Regions from separate parts of the Homo sapiens genome. Here all the other regions are linked to region 1. Evidence: promoter capture Hi-C in 16 types of primary human blood cells and fetal thymus (Javierre and others, 2016). All regions are on one chromosome and are shown on one strand. Each heading gives the region's core, a stretch centred on a gene start or on the middle of the fragment in contact. The rest is flanking DNA. Distances are from core to core; before and after follow the strand shown. Region 1 holds the start of CHST12 (carbohydrate sulfotransferase 12). Region 2 has its middle 39 kb from the start of ELFN1. Region 3 overlaps LOC105375123 (a long non-coding RNA gene). Region 4 holds the start of TMEM184A (transmembrane protein 184A).

Region 1 (4,092 bases), core at 155-2,654:
TGTGAAAGTGCTTAATGCCACTGCAGGGAGTGCTTAAAAATGGTTAAGATGGGCCGGGCGCGGCGGCTCACGCCTGTAATCCCAGCACTTTGGGAGGCCGAGGCGGGCGGATCACGAGGTCAGGAGTTCGAGACCATCCTGGCTAACACGGTGAAACCCCGTCTCTACTAAAAATACAAAAAATTAGCCGGGCGTGGTGGCGGGCGCCTGTAAGTCCCAGCTACCCGGGAGGCTGAGGCAGGAGAATGGCGTGAACCCGGGAGGCGGAGCTTGCAGTGAGCCGAGATCGGGCCACTGTATTCCAGCCTGGGCGACAGAGCGAGACTCTGTCTCAACAACAACAACAACGACAACAACAACAACAACAACAACAACAAAGGTTAAGATGGTAAATTTTATGTTCTATATATTTTACCATAATTTAAAAAAAAAATGACTGGGCCTGGCGCGGTGGCTCACGCCTGTAATCCCAGAGCTCTGGGAGGCTGAGGCAGGAGGATTGCTTGAGTCTAGGGGTTCAAGACCACCCTGGGCAACATAGTGAGACCCCCGTTTCTATTAAAAATTAAAAATTAGCCGGGTGTGGTGGCACCTGTCTGTAGTTCCATCTACTTGGGAGGCTGAGGTGGGAGGATGGCTTGAACCCAGGAGGTCGAGGCTGCAGTGAGCTGTGACTGCACCGCTGCACCCCATCCTGGACGACACGGTGAGATCCTGTCTCTAAAAAAATAAACAAACAAACACACAAAACTACATTGATGCCAAGAACAATTACTGCATGCTCACTATGCATTAGGCATCTTGCTAAGCTCTTTACCCGTGTCATCTCGTTTGTCTCACATACTCCCTGAAAGGTAGGGTCACTAACCTATTATATTTTACGGATTGGCGACAACCTCAGAGAGGTTAAGTCACTTGCCCAAGGTCACACAGCGAGTCTCAAGCCCCAGCCGGTGAGCATCACGATCCTTTGCCAATGAGCCGATGCTCGAGAAAGGGTCGGATAGACAACAGGCACTGCATAAAGGTTGGTTAACGGGATCGTGTTTGGCTGCAACGTGGAGCTCCCGGGTCGAACGGCGAGACAGCTGCGCGTCCCCGAGCCGCCGCGCGCCCGGTCCGCCGGGGCGGAGTCAACGCCGCGGATTGGCTGCTGAGAAAGGGGCGTGGCTCGTGGCGGCCGGTGGGCGGAGTCGATCTCTGGCCGTAAATACGGCGCCACATGGCACTGGCTCGCGAGGGCGGGGGCGGGCGGGCTGGCCGGGCGCAGGCGCGCTGAGGGCGGGCGCCCCTCGGCCTCCGTGGCCCCTCCGGCGGCCGCGACGTCTCGCGAGAAGACGACCGGTAGGAGGGGCTCCTGCGCCGGGGGCGGGGCCGGCGAGGGCTGCCTCTGGGGGGTCCGCTAGTCGCGGGGCGGCGGCGGCGGCTGCGGGCGCGAGGTGAGGGGCGCGAGGTGAGGGTCGCGAGGTGAGGGGCGCGGCGGGCGGCGGGCTCGGGGCGCGGTCTCCCTCTCTCTCGGCCAGTGCTGGGCTCCCAGGGCCCGGGCGGGGGTCCCGGGCCGCGCTGAGGGGCGCGGGTCGGCTCTCCTTAACCTGGCCTGGCGGGCGCGGCTTGGGCCTGGGTTCGAGTTCCCGCGCCGGCGCGCAGTGTGACCTTGGCCCTGCGCGCGCCCTCTCTGAGCCCCGCTCGTCGTCCTCGGCCAGGGGGACCCAGCCCTGGGGCCCTGATCAGCGCGTTCTGCGGCTCCTCGGGGTCTGGACGAGAAATCTGTGGTTCTGATTCAGCGACAGCAGAGGCTGCAGCGGCCCCGCCGGCCCCCAGGAGTCCCCCTGCCCGGCATCAGCCTCTGCCGCCCGGCAGGGGTAGGACCAATTCCCGGGCTTGGAGTTCCAGGATCCCCAGCTCCCGAGGGCCCCCGTGTGCCTGCTGTCACCTGAACGGGGCTCCCCGGCCCCGCCGACCGCAGCCCTGGAGCCTGCAGACGCCAGCAGCACCGGCAGGTCGCTCAGGGTATCCCTTAAATGACCTCTCACTCCAGAAGCCGCAGCCCTGCCCCTCTGGGAGAGGAAACCGTGCATTTAGTCCGGGAACAGTGGGACTTAGACCTCCTCTGCGGGCTCCCGGCCACCGAGACACCGCCGGCAAAGCCTTGGCTCGGGCAGAGGCTCCGTCTGGCAGGCAGCACAACAAGCCATAGTGTTTCCAGCATTATTAAATTATTTAGTTCATAAGCGGGGCTGTGGGGACTCGGAAGCCCCGGGGTGAATAGGAATGTGAGTTGCAGGCGCGGTGCTGGACGCAGTACATCTTCCAGGACACCAGGCCCTACGGTGCTGTTCCCGGCTGTGGGTGGTTGGGGACAGCTCAGCGGGTCCCCCACTTACCCCCACGCGGGGACCCGGGTTAGCCCCTCACCGTGAGCATCTGGTGTTGGGAGTCAGGGCTGGTGTCTGAGTGAGGATGGAGAGAAAACAGGGGTAATGAGGAGATTGCTACACGAAGGTGCAACGCTTGAGATCTGAAAGAGCACCTGCCTGGAATGGCATAGATGTTTGATTTCCCTGCAAAGGAGTTTATGGGACTTTGGGCTGACGCTTTGGGGCCAGCAGTAACTGTCTGCTGTCACTCAGCTGACTCCAGCTTTATTATCAAACCTCCAATCGAGTGCAAGATGCTAAGCTGGGGTAGATGCCGGTAATAGCGTGGGCCTTGCCCTGGGAGCTCACGGCCAGCCTGGCTACAACTGTGTGGAGTTGAGACTGTGGTGCAGGCGTTAACAGAATGTGGCGACATTTTCCGACATTTTCCACAGTGGAGAGGACCTATGAATTGGGGCGTTTGGAGGCAAAGGGCATGCAGAGATGTGGAAGTGAAAGTGATGTTTGGGGGAGATGGTGGGTCGCCGTGTTCTTGATGAAGTGGGGTTTGAGGATTGGGTTGGAAGCTAAGACTGGAAGGCCGGGCGAGGTGGCTCGTGACTGTAATCCCAGCACTTTGGGAGGCAGAGGCGGGCGGATCACCTGAGGTCAGGAGTCCGAGACCAGCCTGGCCAACATGGTGAAACCCCATCTCTACTAAAAATACAAAATTTAGCTGGGCGTGGTGGTGCACACCTGAAGTCCCAGCTACTTAGGAGGATGAGTCAAGAGAATAGCTTGAACCTGGAGGCGGAAGTTGCAGTGAGCCGACACTGGGCCTCTGCACTCCAGCCTGGGCAACAGAGTAAAAAAAAGACTGGAAAGATGGGTTTCTGATTGTGCAGGGGCCTGAATGCTGTGTGAGGGAGTTTAAACTTTTATCCCTTTGGTGGTGGTTTGGGTGCGACGCGATTAGATGTGTTTCAGAAAAGTGGTCGTGGTGAGAATATGGGAGGTGGGTTTTGCCTCTGGGCAGTGGAGCTGAGTTGAGTAGCCTTGTGGGGCGTGGGTCTGGGGCAGTGAGAGAGTGGGGGCGGGCATGGAGCTGAAAGATGTTGCCAAATCCACTGGGCGGTGGCGCTTTGTGAGATGTGGCGACCTGTAACAGCGAGGGCAGCCGGGACTTCTCACCTGCGATGAGGAGCGCTGCGGCCAGGTGGGAGAGGAAGGGCCACACAAACACACGTGGGTTTTAGACCTGCAGAGTTGGCGGTATTGGTGGCCATCCTGGAGGAGATGTGACCTGGTGGAGAAGAGACAGCCTGTACAAGGAGGGAATCCCCAGGAACCCCAGTGGGAAGGGATCCAGAGCTGAAGAGAGGCCCGTTGGTTGGCTGACCTTGGGCGTGCAGTTCCTTGACTACGCACAGTCATTGAGGCTGGCAGGTGATTCTCTTCTAGTGTGGGTCAGGGGCTGAAGGAGCCATCAGTGGGAAAAGACGGGTTATTGATGATACTGAAACACATGCGGCTTGTTTGTCATTTAAAAAAACCGTACATCTTGAGTTTCGATTCTTAAGTTGTCTTTCTTTTCGGAGAGTAGCTGTTAGTTTCACACTTGCTTAGTGGGTCTGTGGCTGCAGGCGGGACTGTGGTTCTCCAGCCCTGGCCCACAGATGTGCCTGGAGATAATTGACTCTCCAACTTATTACTTCCTGCTGTTAAGGTGGTGGTT
Region 2 (4,217 bases), core at 1,619-4,118, 770 kb before region 1:
AGCTTTATAATTCTAGGTTTCACATTTAGGTCTATGATCCATTTTGAGTTTACTTTTGTATATAGTGTGAACTATGGACCAAAACTCCTTTTTTGCGTGAACAGATATCCAAACGTTGCAACCCATTTGATGAGAAGCCTCTCTTTTCTCCACTAAGTTGCCTTTGCATCTGTGTCAAAATTAGTTGTCCATGTATATGGGCATCTATTTCGAGACTCTTATTCTGTTTTATTGATCTATTTGTCTGTATTTATAGCAATGCCACACTGTTTTGATCACAATAGTTTTGTCATATGTCTTGAAATCAGGGAGTGCCAGTGCTCCAACATCACTCTTTTCAATGTTGTTTTGGGTCTTCTAGGTCCTTTGCATTCCATATGAATTTCACACTTGGCTTGTCAATTTCTGGAACACAAATAAGAAAAACTGGCTGGGGATGGTGGCTTATGCCTGTAATCCTAGCACTTTGAGGGGCTGAGGTGGTTGGATCACCTGAGATCAGGAGTTGAAGATCAGCCTGGCCAACATGGTGAAACCCCGTTTCTACTAAAAATACAAAAAATTAGCTGGGTATGGTGGCATGCACCTGTAATCCCAGTTACTTTGGGAGGCTGAGGCAGGAGAATTGCTTGAAACCAGTAGGTGGAGGTTGCAGTGAGTCGATATCGCGCCACTGCACTCCAGCCTGGGCGACAGAGCCAGACTCCATCTGAAAGAAAAAAAGAATAGAAAAACCTGTCCCAGGCTTGCACTCAGCCCCTGACAGCTGGCAGGTGTCATGGTTTATATTATTTTCTCTGCAGCAGGGTGGTCTTCCCAGGAGCTTGCCTGCTTCTCCCTGGCATGGCTCCTCTGCCAGCCTGTCTGTCCACTCCCATCTGTCTCCCTACACAGAGACACACGGCCTTTCCCATTACTCACGGAGTTTCTTGGGGCTGGAAATCATCACGTTTTCTCTGCAGTACACAAAGAGCCCAGCAGTGTTGGGTACATGGAAGGTTTTTCCTAAGGTTTTGATAATATTTCCAGACTAATTCTTTATATAATGGAATAAAATCAGTATGCTAGTGGGGATGTCTAATGCTGTGAGTTCCCACTCACCCCATCCACCTATCATTAACCCATCCATTCAGTCATCCATTCATCTACTTGTCTACCCACCCATCCATCTATCCATCCACCCATCTACTCATCCACACATCCACCCTTCCATCCATCCACCTGTCTATCCATTCATCCGTCTATCCATACACTCATCCATCTCTCCATCCATTCATCCACCATCTACCCATCCATCCCTCTACACTCTGTCCATTTAACCATCCACCATCCATCCATTTATCCCATCCACCCACCCATTCATCTATCCATCATCCACCCATTCACCCACCCATTCATCCATCCATCCATCATCCACCCACCCGTTCATCCATCCATCCATCATCCACCCACCCGTTCATCCATCCATCCATCATCCACCCACCCATTCATCCATCCATCATCCACCCATCTACCCACCTATTCATCTATCCATTTACCCATTCACCCACCCATTCCTCCATCCATCATTCACTCATCCACCCACCCATTCATCCATCCACCTACTCATCCACTCACCCATTCATCCATCCACCTACTCATCCACCCACCCATTCATCCATTCACCTACTCATCCACCCATTCATTCATCCATCCATCATTCACCCATACCTCCTTCTATCTTCTTCCACATACTCATCCCAATTTCTGATCAACAACTGTTTTGGACACTGGGCCACAGATGTGCCTTCCAAGACCTAAGTTGCCTTATCTTTAAATGAAAGAGTCGAATGAACCCATTTCCCAGGGCCCTTCACACTCTGGCATTCTTTGACTTCTATGCAGGCACAACCTTCCATAAGAAGGGTGAGGAGCTGGGCCATGTCAGAGAGAAGACCTGATGTCCACTGACGTGGGGCACAGACCGAGATTTCACCACCGTTTCCCTTGCCCCTATTTGAACCAAGGCCACAGGAACTGAGATCCCATCATAGGGGCAAGCATAGCAAACGTCCCAGAAATGGCCCCTATTGGTTGCAGGTGGCTTAACTGGGCATCCAGAGGGTGTCCCTTACTGTCCCGTTCCAGTGGGAGCCACCTGATGACCTCTGCAGCCACGGAATCCACAGTACACTGAAGAAGTAGTTGTTGGGCACAGAGGGCTGAGAGCCAGTCTAAAGGCAGGGCAGGGGCCTCCTCAGGGAAGCCTCAGGCTTGTCTTCCCCCAGGGAAGTGTCCAGGTCCATGATGTCACCGCTGAAGCTGCAAGCCACAGACATGGTCTTTGAGCTGACATCATCATCAGACCTAGGATCCCTGCCCATATGTCCCCCACCTGACCTGTGCACACTCTGCCTCACATGTGCACATTCTTTTTTTTTTTTTTGAGACAAAAAGTCTCGGTCTGTCACCCAGGCTGGAGTGTAGTGGCATGATCTCGGCTCACTGCAACCTCTGCCTCCCAGGTTCAAGTGATTCTCCTGCCTCAGCCTCCCAAGTAGCTGGGATCACAGGTGCACGCCACCACATCTGGTTAATTTTTTTTTGTATTTTTAGTAGAGACAGGGTTTCACCACCTTGGCCAGGCTGGTCTTGAACTCCTGTCCTCATGGTCCACCCACCTTGGCCTCCCAAAGTGCTGGGATTACAGGCATGAGCCACTGCGCCCGGCCACCTGTGTACATTCTATAGCACCTGTGCACACCCCCATCTCATCTGGGCACACTCTACCTCACCTGGGCATATAGTTCATCCTCACCTGTGCACATCCTCCCTTACCTGGGCATCTCACTTGTGGGCAACTTCACCTGTGCACACCCTCATCTCACCTGGGCACACCCTTGCCTCACACTCTTACCTCACCTGTAAGTACCTCCACCTTACCTGTGCGTACCCCTACCTCATCTGGGCATACCCCACCTACCCTGTGCACACCCTAACCTCACCTGTAAGCACCCCCACCTCACCTGTACACACCAAGGCTGCTTACAATCCACACCTGTGTCCCCAGCCAGGCCTGAATATCAGTAGGGCTGCCGAGCAGTGAAGCTGACATCCACGGATGGCCTTCCAGGGTCGGGAGAGGCAGGACCCTGCAAGGAGGGCATTGACCCCTTGCCTCTTCTGCCTCCCCCCACCGTGGGGACCCTGGGCAGTCCTTGACTCCCTGGCAGTGCAGGGCCAGGTGAGACGGCACTGGCTAGGCCCCGGTGGAGGTTTTCACCTCCGCACTTCTCTCTGTTCTTCTGCTCTGTGGCTTCTGCCTCAGTGGGGAGGTGGACAGAGCTGAGCACAAAGAAATCAATGGACTTTCAGGATGAATTTTTAAAGACCAGCAGCAGTGGCACTATTCTAAAGCACAGAGGATTTCTTTTGCAAGAGCAGGGCTTTTTGAGAAAGGAAAAGGTTTTAAGTGAGAACATGGACTTTACTGGCTTAAGCCGTAGAGCGGGGGAGGCTGTGGGGAGCCTCTTTCCTGTCTGAGAGAAGGCAAGGGTTGGACCATGGGGCGGGGGCAGGGAAAGGGTGCCCCAGTCCCTCACGTGGCCACTGCCTGGGTGAAGCCACATGGGGGTGGCTGCTGGGAGACCCAGGGGAGCGGGGGGGGGATGTCAACGTAGACCTGTGCTTGATACACTCCTTAGAAGTCTGGAGAAATCCTCACACCAGCACAGGGGTGTCCCCCAGGGGAGAGGAGCCCCAGCCATGGCTCCGGCAAGCCTGTTGGGGCAGGGGGCAGTTCACGTCCTGGTGGTCCCTAAGAGGTGGGCCGGGCTCCAGCAAGCAGGAGGTCTCGAAGTTAGCACAAAGAGTTCCCAAGGGGTGTTAGTGGACACGGAGGGCAGGGTTCCTGGATAGCTGGGCCAGACTGGCCACAGAACCTGTGGGAGCCTTACCTGGGCCCCATGTGGAGGCACAGGCAGGCGGATGGGGGAGAGGGGGAGGGCGGAGGAATCAGGACAGAGTGAGTGCTGGCCCTGAGGCTGAGACAGCTGGAAGGGGTGGGTGACCCTGAGTGGGCTGGCGACAAGGGTGATTCCTGGGGAAGCAGAGAGTTCCTGCAGAAGGGACTTGGTTCTGCAAACTCACTGCTCAGCTTCCACATGGCCCTTAAGCCCTGCTCCTCTGCGGCAATCTTCCTTCTGTGGGGTTTTTGGGTACCCTCCACCACACTGACT
Region 3 (3,820 bases), core at 445-2,944, 810 kb before region 1:
CTCCCTCCATCTATCCTCCCTCTTTCCATCTCTCCCTCCCTCCCTCCTCCATCCATCCTCCTATCCATCCACCCTCCCATCTATCCATCCATCCATCCATCCATCCATCCATCCATGCATCCACCTTCCCATTCATCCATTTATCTATTCATCCATCCGTGCATCCATCCATCCACTGTCCCTTCTATCCCTCCATCCTCCCATTCATCCATCCTCCCATTCGTCCACCCTCCTATCCACCCACTCTCCCATTTATCCATCCTCCCATCCGCCCTCCCATCCATCCACCCTCCCATCCATCCATGCATGCATCCATCCATCCATGCATCTATCCATCCATCCATTTATCCATCCACCCTCCCATCCATCCACCCTCCCATCCATTCATGCATGCATCCATCCATCCATCCATGCATCTATCCATCCATCCATTTATCCATCCACCCTCCCATCCATCCACCCTCCCATCCATCCACCCTCCCATCCATCCATGCATCCATCCATGCATCCATCCATCCATCCATCCATCCATCCATCCTTCCATCCTTCCACCCTGCCATCCATTCGCCCTCCCATTCATCCATCCATTCTCCCATCCATCCACTCTTCCATCCATCCATCCATCCATCCTCCCTACATCCACCCTCCCATCCATCCATGCATCCATCCATCCATCCATCCATCCATCCTCCTATCTATCCACCCTCCCTTCTATCCATCCATCCTCCCATCCATCCATCCATTCTCCCATCCATCCACCCTCCCACCCATCCATCCTCCCATCCATCCATCCATTCTCCCATCCATCCACCCTCCCACCCATCCATCCTCCCATCGATCCATCTATCCATCTTGCCATCCATCCACCCTCCCGTCCATCCATCTATCCATCCTCCCGTCCGTCCATCCATCCATCCATCCATCCATCCATCCATCCTCCCATCCATCCACCCTCCCGTTCATCCATCTATCCATCCTCCCATCCATCCTTCCATCCATCCTCCTGTCCATCCCTCCATCCATCCTCCTATCCATCCACTTTCCCATCCATCCATCTATCCATCCTCCTATCCATCCACCTTCCCGTCCATCCATCTATCCATCCTCCCATCCATCCACCCTCCCATCCATCTATCTATTCATCCTCCCATCCATCCCTCCCATCCACTCATGCATTCATCCATCCATGCATCCATGCATCCATCCATCCATCCATCCATTTATCCTCCCGTCTATCCACCCTCCCTTCTATCCATCCATCCTCCTATCCATCCATCCATCCACCCATCCCTTCTCCCACCCATCCACCCTCCCATCCATCCGTCTATCCATCCTCCCATCCATTCACCCTCACATCCATCCTCCCTCCATCCATCCTCCCAGCCATCCACCCTCCCACTCATCCAAGCAGTCCTTGCTTGTCTAGGACTGTAGGAGCTCTGTCAGCTCTGGAGATACGGCAGTGAACAGGACTAGAAAGGCCACTGCCTCCACGGAGCTCCCTGTTTAGTAGAAGAGAAAGAAAACAAGAAACGAACATGCCTGTATTTCTGTGTACATGAATGCTGAGAATCTGGAGAGACCAGCTGGGATGAATTGGAATCCGGGGGCCTGGGTGGTTTCTGATGAAGAGATGTTTGGGCTGGGGCTGCAGCAGGGGCCAAGCTGGCCATGGGATGGAGAAGAGGCCAGTCCTGCCCATGTCAAGTCTGGAGAGGGTGGGGCAGGGGCGAGGGTGAGATAGGGACCTGAACGTTCATTCTGGAGCTGTTTCACAAGCACCTCCAGTGCACCAGAGTCCTGGGACTGGCTGTGGCACGGGCATGGGGTGGGGTGGGATCGTGAGCACCCCTCACCTCACGATCCCCTCGTCCCTTCCCTCACCCGCCGCTGCCCACACCCCCGGCTCCTTCCAGGATAGAGCCCGGAAAACAAGTCGGGGGAGGGAGGGTGCAGAGATCAAGATAAACCCCTCTCCCCAAATCATATTCCAATTCCTCAATTTCACCTCCTCACTCAACAGGGAGCCATCTCTCTAGTTTTCCAGGCCAACCCTTAGGAGCTGGGGATTTATTTGTGCATTTTTAACCCATTGTACAGATTCTGACTCCATTAGCGAAGCCACACCTTGGGGGCCACAGTGCCTTTCGTCTGCAAAGGGGCCCTGCAAAGACCGGTCAGGAAAAATTAATTAAACATTTTAACCTCTCAATGCCTCATGGCTGCGACATTCCCCTCCCGTGTCAGCCAAGAGAGAAACAGCCGTGTTTATCTACAAGCTCCTGGAGGAGCAGAGGCCACTCAGCCCCTGATACAATCTTGGGTGCCGTGTGCGTGGGGACAGTTTACAGCCCCGCATGACAGAAATCAGATATTTAGGGAGATGGAGTGATGGCCTGGCGTTAGTGGGGTCCGACGTGTTCCAGGCTCCGTGCCCTATCCCCAGGGCTCTAATGGCTGTGTGTGGGTGGGGGTGTACTCCACCTATGAGGCGCTGGGAGTCAAATGCATTTATCAGCTTCCTGGAGATTTAAAACCCAATAGCCTCTCTCCTGCCATTGCAGAGAATGGCAACAGTGTACGCAGGCGAAACACGTGGTTCCCAGGGTCCACGCTGCTTTTTCTTCCCCCAGGCCTGCAAATTATTCTCCCCGTGGTCTTTCTGCTTGAGTCACTGACTCTATGCTCGTTTACCAACCAGGTACCCTGTGCCAGGTGCCGTGTCCACGCTGGGTCACCTCGGGGGCCAAGACAGCTGATGGCCGCATCCGGGGGTGTGGACAGATGGGAAGAGGAGCGCACCAGTCAATGCGTGAGCCCATTTCCGGCAATCAGCGCCACGACGGTACCAACGTGGAGGGGCGCAATCGTGCCTGGGCGGGTGGTTCGAGGAGGAGCATCTGAGGAGGTGATGTTTCGGTTGAGGCTTGAGTGCCGAGCAGAAGGCAGGCAGGTGGAGGTCGAGGGAAAAGCATTCTGGGCGGAGGGAACAGTGTATGTAAAGGCTCGGAGGCAGAAAAGGACTCAAATGTTTTAGGGACTGAAAGAGAGGCAGCTTCCTTCAACTGCCAACTGCCATGATGAGTTATTGCAAACTGTGGGACTTAAAACCACAGAAAGTTACCATCCCACAGGTCAGGAGGGAACCAAGGAGTCGGAGTCAGCAGGGCTGGTTCCTTCTTGAGGGTCCTGGCAGCGGAGAATTTATTCCAGGCCCTTCTCCTGCTTCTGGCAGCTGCCAACAGCTCATGGCTGACACACCGCTGCAATCTCTGTTGCTGTCATCCCACGGCCCTCGTCACATGGCCTCTGTGTCTCTGTGTCCTTCTCTGTTCTTACAAGGACATCTGTCATTGGATTTGGGGCCCATCCTGAATCCAGGATGACCTCATCTTGATGTCTTTAATCAATTCCATTCCCTAAGACCAATTCACAGGGTGAAAGGTCCCATGCACAGGTCCCAGGGGTCAGCGCTTGGGTAGCTCTTTTTGGGGTCCCCGTTCACCCCATGGCAGGCAGCACGTGATCTCGGTGGTGAGCCAGGAGGCTCACGGTATGAGACGAAGGAGCCAAGGTGGCGGGGCGAGGCTCCGTAAGGCCTCTGGCCCCTGGCACGGGGTTGGCTGTGTTCAGGGTGCAGCTGGCAGCTGCTGTGGGGTTTGCAGGGGCCTGGATGTGGGCACAGGGAAGAGAGGATGATCCTCAGAGCTTCCAGGGGGTCTGTGGGGGGCAGGGCCTCTCACACTTCATTGAGAGGAAAATGGAGAAACCAGAACTCCTGGGGCCTTTGGGAAAATGGAGCAGTGATGGAGGAAGAAGG
Region 4 (3,866 bases), core at 480-2,979, 850 kb before region 1:
CCCTGCAGCCGTGTGGCCCTCGCGGGCCTACACACGCACTCCCACCCCACCCCTGCGCACACCGCCCTGGCCTCTCTGTGTATCTGAGTCTCTCAGGAGGGTCCTGTCCCTGACTCCCTGCCCTCTCTGCCCAGCCCCTGCCCTCGGGCACCACTTCCTCCTTGCCCCTGCCTGGCCCTTCCTTGCCACAGCGCCTGGCCGCTTCTCTACCTGGGGGCTGTTCTGTTCCCACCTGGGGACTGCTCCGGGTCGGGGGCTGTGTGTGGCTTCGGGCTTGGGGAAGTTGCTTCTCGCCCATCTCCTGCACAGGAGTCCCGGTCCCTCTAACAAGCTGTGACCTTTGCTCCCCAGCTCCCTACAGAGCAAAGTCCAACCCCCTGCCAACCTCCCACCAGCCTTCTCCAGGGTGTCACGCCTCTGGAAGGAGAAGGCCCCTTCCCCTTTCCAGCTATGTGAGCCTGGGAAAGACCTCTGGTCTCTCTGAGACTCAGTCTTCTTGTCTGTGAAATGGGACCACACTGCAGACCTCAGTGAGCCGAGTGACGAGCCTGTGAAATAGCCAGGGGTGCCCGGTGGGCGCTCTGCCCTCAGCCTGGCAGAGATCTCCCCATTTTCAGGCCCAGCTCCCACATGCCACATCCTGGGGAAGCTCATCCCCTCCCCCGTGCCCTGGCCGATCCCACTTCTGACAGCGTCTATAGCAGCGGCACCCAGGGGGACCGGGCTGAGCCACGGCCACGTCCTGTGGAGACCAAGGTCCTGAAGGAGGCTCGGGGGCGGAAGGGCTTACCTGGTGGCAGGTGAGCACCAGGGCAGTCCACACGAAGATCCCCGAGACGCCTCGGGCCAGTGCGGAGGTGAGGAAGAGCCAGGGGGCCCCCTGGGAGCTGTTCCCCATGTGGTCCATCTGCGGCCCAGCTGGCACAGCCGGTGGGGGGCTGGGCTGCGGCCAGTTCGCTGACACCAGGGGGACGCCGGCTGTCTCCAGGATCCCTGAGACATTACTCATCTGCAGAGGGAGGGAGGACACACACCGGGAGGAGTGAGGGCAAAGGTACTGGCTCCCGGCAGCAGGAAGCAGCGGGGGAGGGAGGAGACAGTGAGACGGGAGCTGAGGCTGAGCCACCCACCAGGCCGCACCCCCCACACGGACACCAGCGCCAGGCCCGGCTCCCTCCCTGCTCCGAGCTCAGCCATCGAAGCTCACCCATCAACCACCTGCGACCTGAGGGTCCCACCTCAATTCCCCCTTGTAAAACCAGCTTCCAACTCCGAGTCTCAGGCTTGCAGGGAGCCTGCTTCTTAGGGGACAAAGACCGTCTTCCAGTGGGGCAGAAGAGGGGGAACCCCTGCCGCCCTGCCTGCCCGGGAGGGCTGGGGAGCGGGCGCAGACCAGCACTGCCTGCCCCGGCAGGAGGGGGTGTGCAGCCACCCTCATGGGAGGAGCCGGCCCTCACTGGCTCTGGGACCTGTCCACCCACCTGGGAGCCCGGCTTTGCTGGGGTTCTTGGCAGCCCTGGGTGCCTGTTCCATCTCCCACTAACCTGCTGGGGCCCTGAGTCCACCCTCTCCCACACTCGCAGCCCAGTCCAGCCTCCTCCTCTCCCTCTGGTCTGCGGTCACAGGGCCCAGCTCTACCTTTGCTGGCAGGAAGCACCTGGCCCAGTCCAGGGAGGCCTGGCCTCCAGGGAAGCCTAGCTGGTCATTCTCATGGCCACGTGGCCCCAACTGGAGGCCCCACTGTGGGTGCGGCAAGGCCAGGATCTGAAGGGCTGTGCCAGGCTGGGGCGGGGCGGCCAGTGCCTCACGTCCCCAGTGGCCCACCTGGGCCCCAGGCTGCAGGCCCGTCCCCTCCTGTCCCCTCCCACGGCTGACACCCTATCCTCCCGGTTGTTTGCTGGGTGGCAGCTGGCTCCCAGGAACCTGCTGGCCGCCTGGCGCCCTCACCTGCCTATGCCAGACGGCCAGGCAGCTGCCACCTGGTGGGGACACGTGGGAGAGGTCTGCGGCAGGCCAAGGAGGGCCGGGCTGCAGGAGGAGGGGTGGAGAGCTAATGGTACAGGGTTTCTCTGGGGGGTGACAGGAGTCCTGAAATGAGGTAGAGGCGGCAGGCACACAGCACTGTGGATATACTTACCGCCACCGAATCGTTCACTTAAACCTGGGTAAATTGATGTTATGTGAATTTCATCTGAATTAAAAAAAAAATCCACGCCCCAAGAGATGAGTTGAAAACATTTGTTTTCTGGGCCGGGCGTGGTGGCTCACGCCTGTCATCCCCACACTTTGGGAGGCCAAGGTGGGTGGATCACTTGAGGTCAGGAGTTCGAGACCAGCCTGGCCAACATGGTGAAACGCCGTCTCTACGAAATACGCAAAAATTAGCTAGGTGTGGCAGCGTGCACCTGTAATTCCAGATACTCAAGAGGCTGAGACAGGAGAATCGCTTGAACTCAGAAGGCGGAGGTTGCAGTAAGCTGAGATCACACCACTGCACTCCAGCCTGGGGACAGAGGGAGACTCTGTGTCCAAAAAAAAAAAAAAAAAAAAAAGGAAATATTTCTGGTTTTTGTGGATCAAGGCAGGAGAGGGGGAGTGACAGCCCAGTCCCTGGACCCTTTGGGGTCTGGCAAGGGGTTGCGGGGCCCTGAGGGTCCCTGTCACCCCCATGCAGAGGCCCCTGTGGAGAAAAAACTCACTCACCCCGGCTCCTGGGAGAGGGATGTGGGCCCTCAGCCCACCTCTTGTCCTGTTCTGGTTACGCTTGGGCTCATGCCGCTGGGGCCACCATTACCAAGTCCCGCTCCATGCCCGCAACGGATCCACACACTCCTTGTCCTTCATATCTCCTACCCTCCCACAGCCCTGAGCAACAGGGCTCAAGGGGTTGAGGCTGGAATGACTGGAGCCACTGTTCCCCTTTTATTTTTAATTAATTTATTTTTTGAGACGGAGCCTCGCTCTGTCGCCAGGCTGGAGTACAATGGCGCGATCTCGGCTCACTGCAACCTCCGCCTCCTGGGTTCAAGTGATTCTCCTGCCTCAGCCTCCCGAGTAGCTGGGATTACAGGCGCCCACCACCACACCTAGCTAATTTTTGTATTTTTAGTAAAGACGGGGTTTCACCACGTTGGCCAGGCTGGGCTTGAACTCCTGACCTCAGGTGATCTGCCCGCCTCAGCCTCCCAAAGTGCTGGGATTACAGGTTTGAGCCACCACGTCCGGCCTGTTCCCCTTTTAGAGATGGGAACGAGAGGCGCATCAACGCGTCCAGCATCCTTGAGGGGTCCGTGAGGGGCCCGGGCTGAGGCCCATCCTTCCCTGGGACACCCTGCCTGCTTTTCCCAACTCCTCCACTGACACTGTCCCTCCAGGGAGGCTCCCAGGTGGGGAACAAGCTCAGGAAGTCGTGCCCAGCTCTCAGGCCCGCCTTGCCTAACCTCCCCATCAGCGCCCACCCGGGCCCGGGCCCAGAGCCACAGCATGCACACCCTGGCTGGGCCCTCCTGGAGCCTGCCTGCTCCCCAGGCAGGGACCTTCTGGACCAACCGACCCTGCTCCCGGGTGACTCTGTCCTGCAGCCTCAGGCGTCACCTCTGGAGAGACCATCCCCGCTGTCCCATCACCCTCCTCACTGTGTGTGTGACTCCCTGTCCACCTGTCTGTGTTTGCTGCTGGTCCTCCCTCTGCAGGAGCTGCCAGAGCCTAGAGCTGTGCCCTGTCCATGCTCGGGGCACAGGGCTTGCGGGGTGGGGGCTGTCCTGCTGAGGCGGTGACCCTGTGGGCTAAGGTCTCCCTTTGGCCAGGCAGGGGTGCTGGAAGGCGGTCCCCAACTTCCATCCAGCTGCATTCCCACTGCAGCCACA

What was found. Contacts are between HindIII fragments. The CHiCAGO score rates a contact against its expected background, and 5 or more counts as called.
Region 2: a fragment that was not itself captured here is called in contact with the fragment with the promoter of CHST12 in region 1 in 5 of 17 cell types (naive B cells, total CD4 T cells, M1 macrophages and 2 more); the score reaches 6.1 in naive B cells.
Region 3: a contact is called between a fragment that was not itself captured here and the fragment with the promoter of CHST12 in region 1, in 11 of 17 cell types (total CD8 T cells, M0 macrophages, non-activated CD4 T cells and 8 more). The highest score is 8.2, in total CD8 T cells.
Region 4: a contact is called between the fragment with the promoter of TMEM184A here and the fragment with the promoter of CHST12 in region 1, in 2 of 17 cell types (monocytes and non-activated CD4 T cells). The highest score is 5.7, in monocytes.

The regions. Positions count from the first base shown.
Region 1 is chr7:2,402,207-2,406,298 of GRCh38, forward strand. CHST12 (carbohydrate sulfotransferase 12) reads left to right here and starts at 1,405. Exons shown (of 2, transcript NM_018641.5): 1 at 1,405-1,467. RefSeq lists enhancers at 882-981, 3,802-3,921 and silencers at 1,072-1,441, 1,532-1,701. The HindIII fragment of the contact is 31,732 bases long and covers 1-4,092 here.
Region 2 is chr7:1,629,575-1,633,791 of GRCh38, forward strand. No RefSeq gene overlaps it. Among named protein-coding and RNA genes, the nearest start is that of ELFN1, 39 kb to the right of the region's middle. The HindIII fragment of the contact is 5,736 bases long and covers 1-4,217 here.
Region 3 is chr7:1,594,060-1,597,879 of GRCh38, forward strand. LOC105375123 (a long non-coding RNA gene) reads left to right here. Exons shown (of 8, transcript XR_001745048.2): 3 at 2,702-2,845. Among named protein-coding and RNA genes, the nearest start is that of PSMG3-AS1, 26 kb to the left of the region's middle. The HindIII fragment of the contact is 5,076 bases long and covers 1-3,820 here.
Region 4 is chr7:1,554,476-1,558,341 of GRCh38, forward strand. It overlaps TMEM184A (transmembrane protein 184A), which reads right to left and starts at 1,730. Exons shown (of 9, transcript NM_001097620.2): 1 at 1,639-1,730; 2 at 791-1,009. The coding sequence starts at 1,009. RefSeq lists silencers at 256-438, 1,806-1,875, 1,916-2,005 and enhancers at 548-1,348, 918-1,212, 1,349-2,148. The HindIII fragment of the contact is 30,451 bases long and covers 1-3,866 here.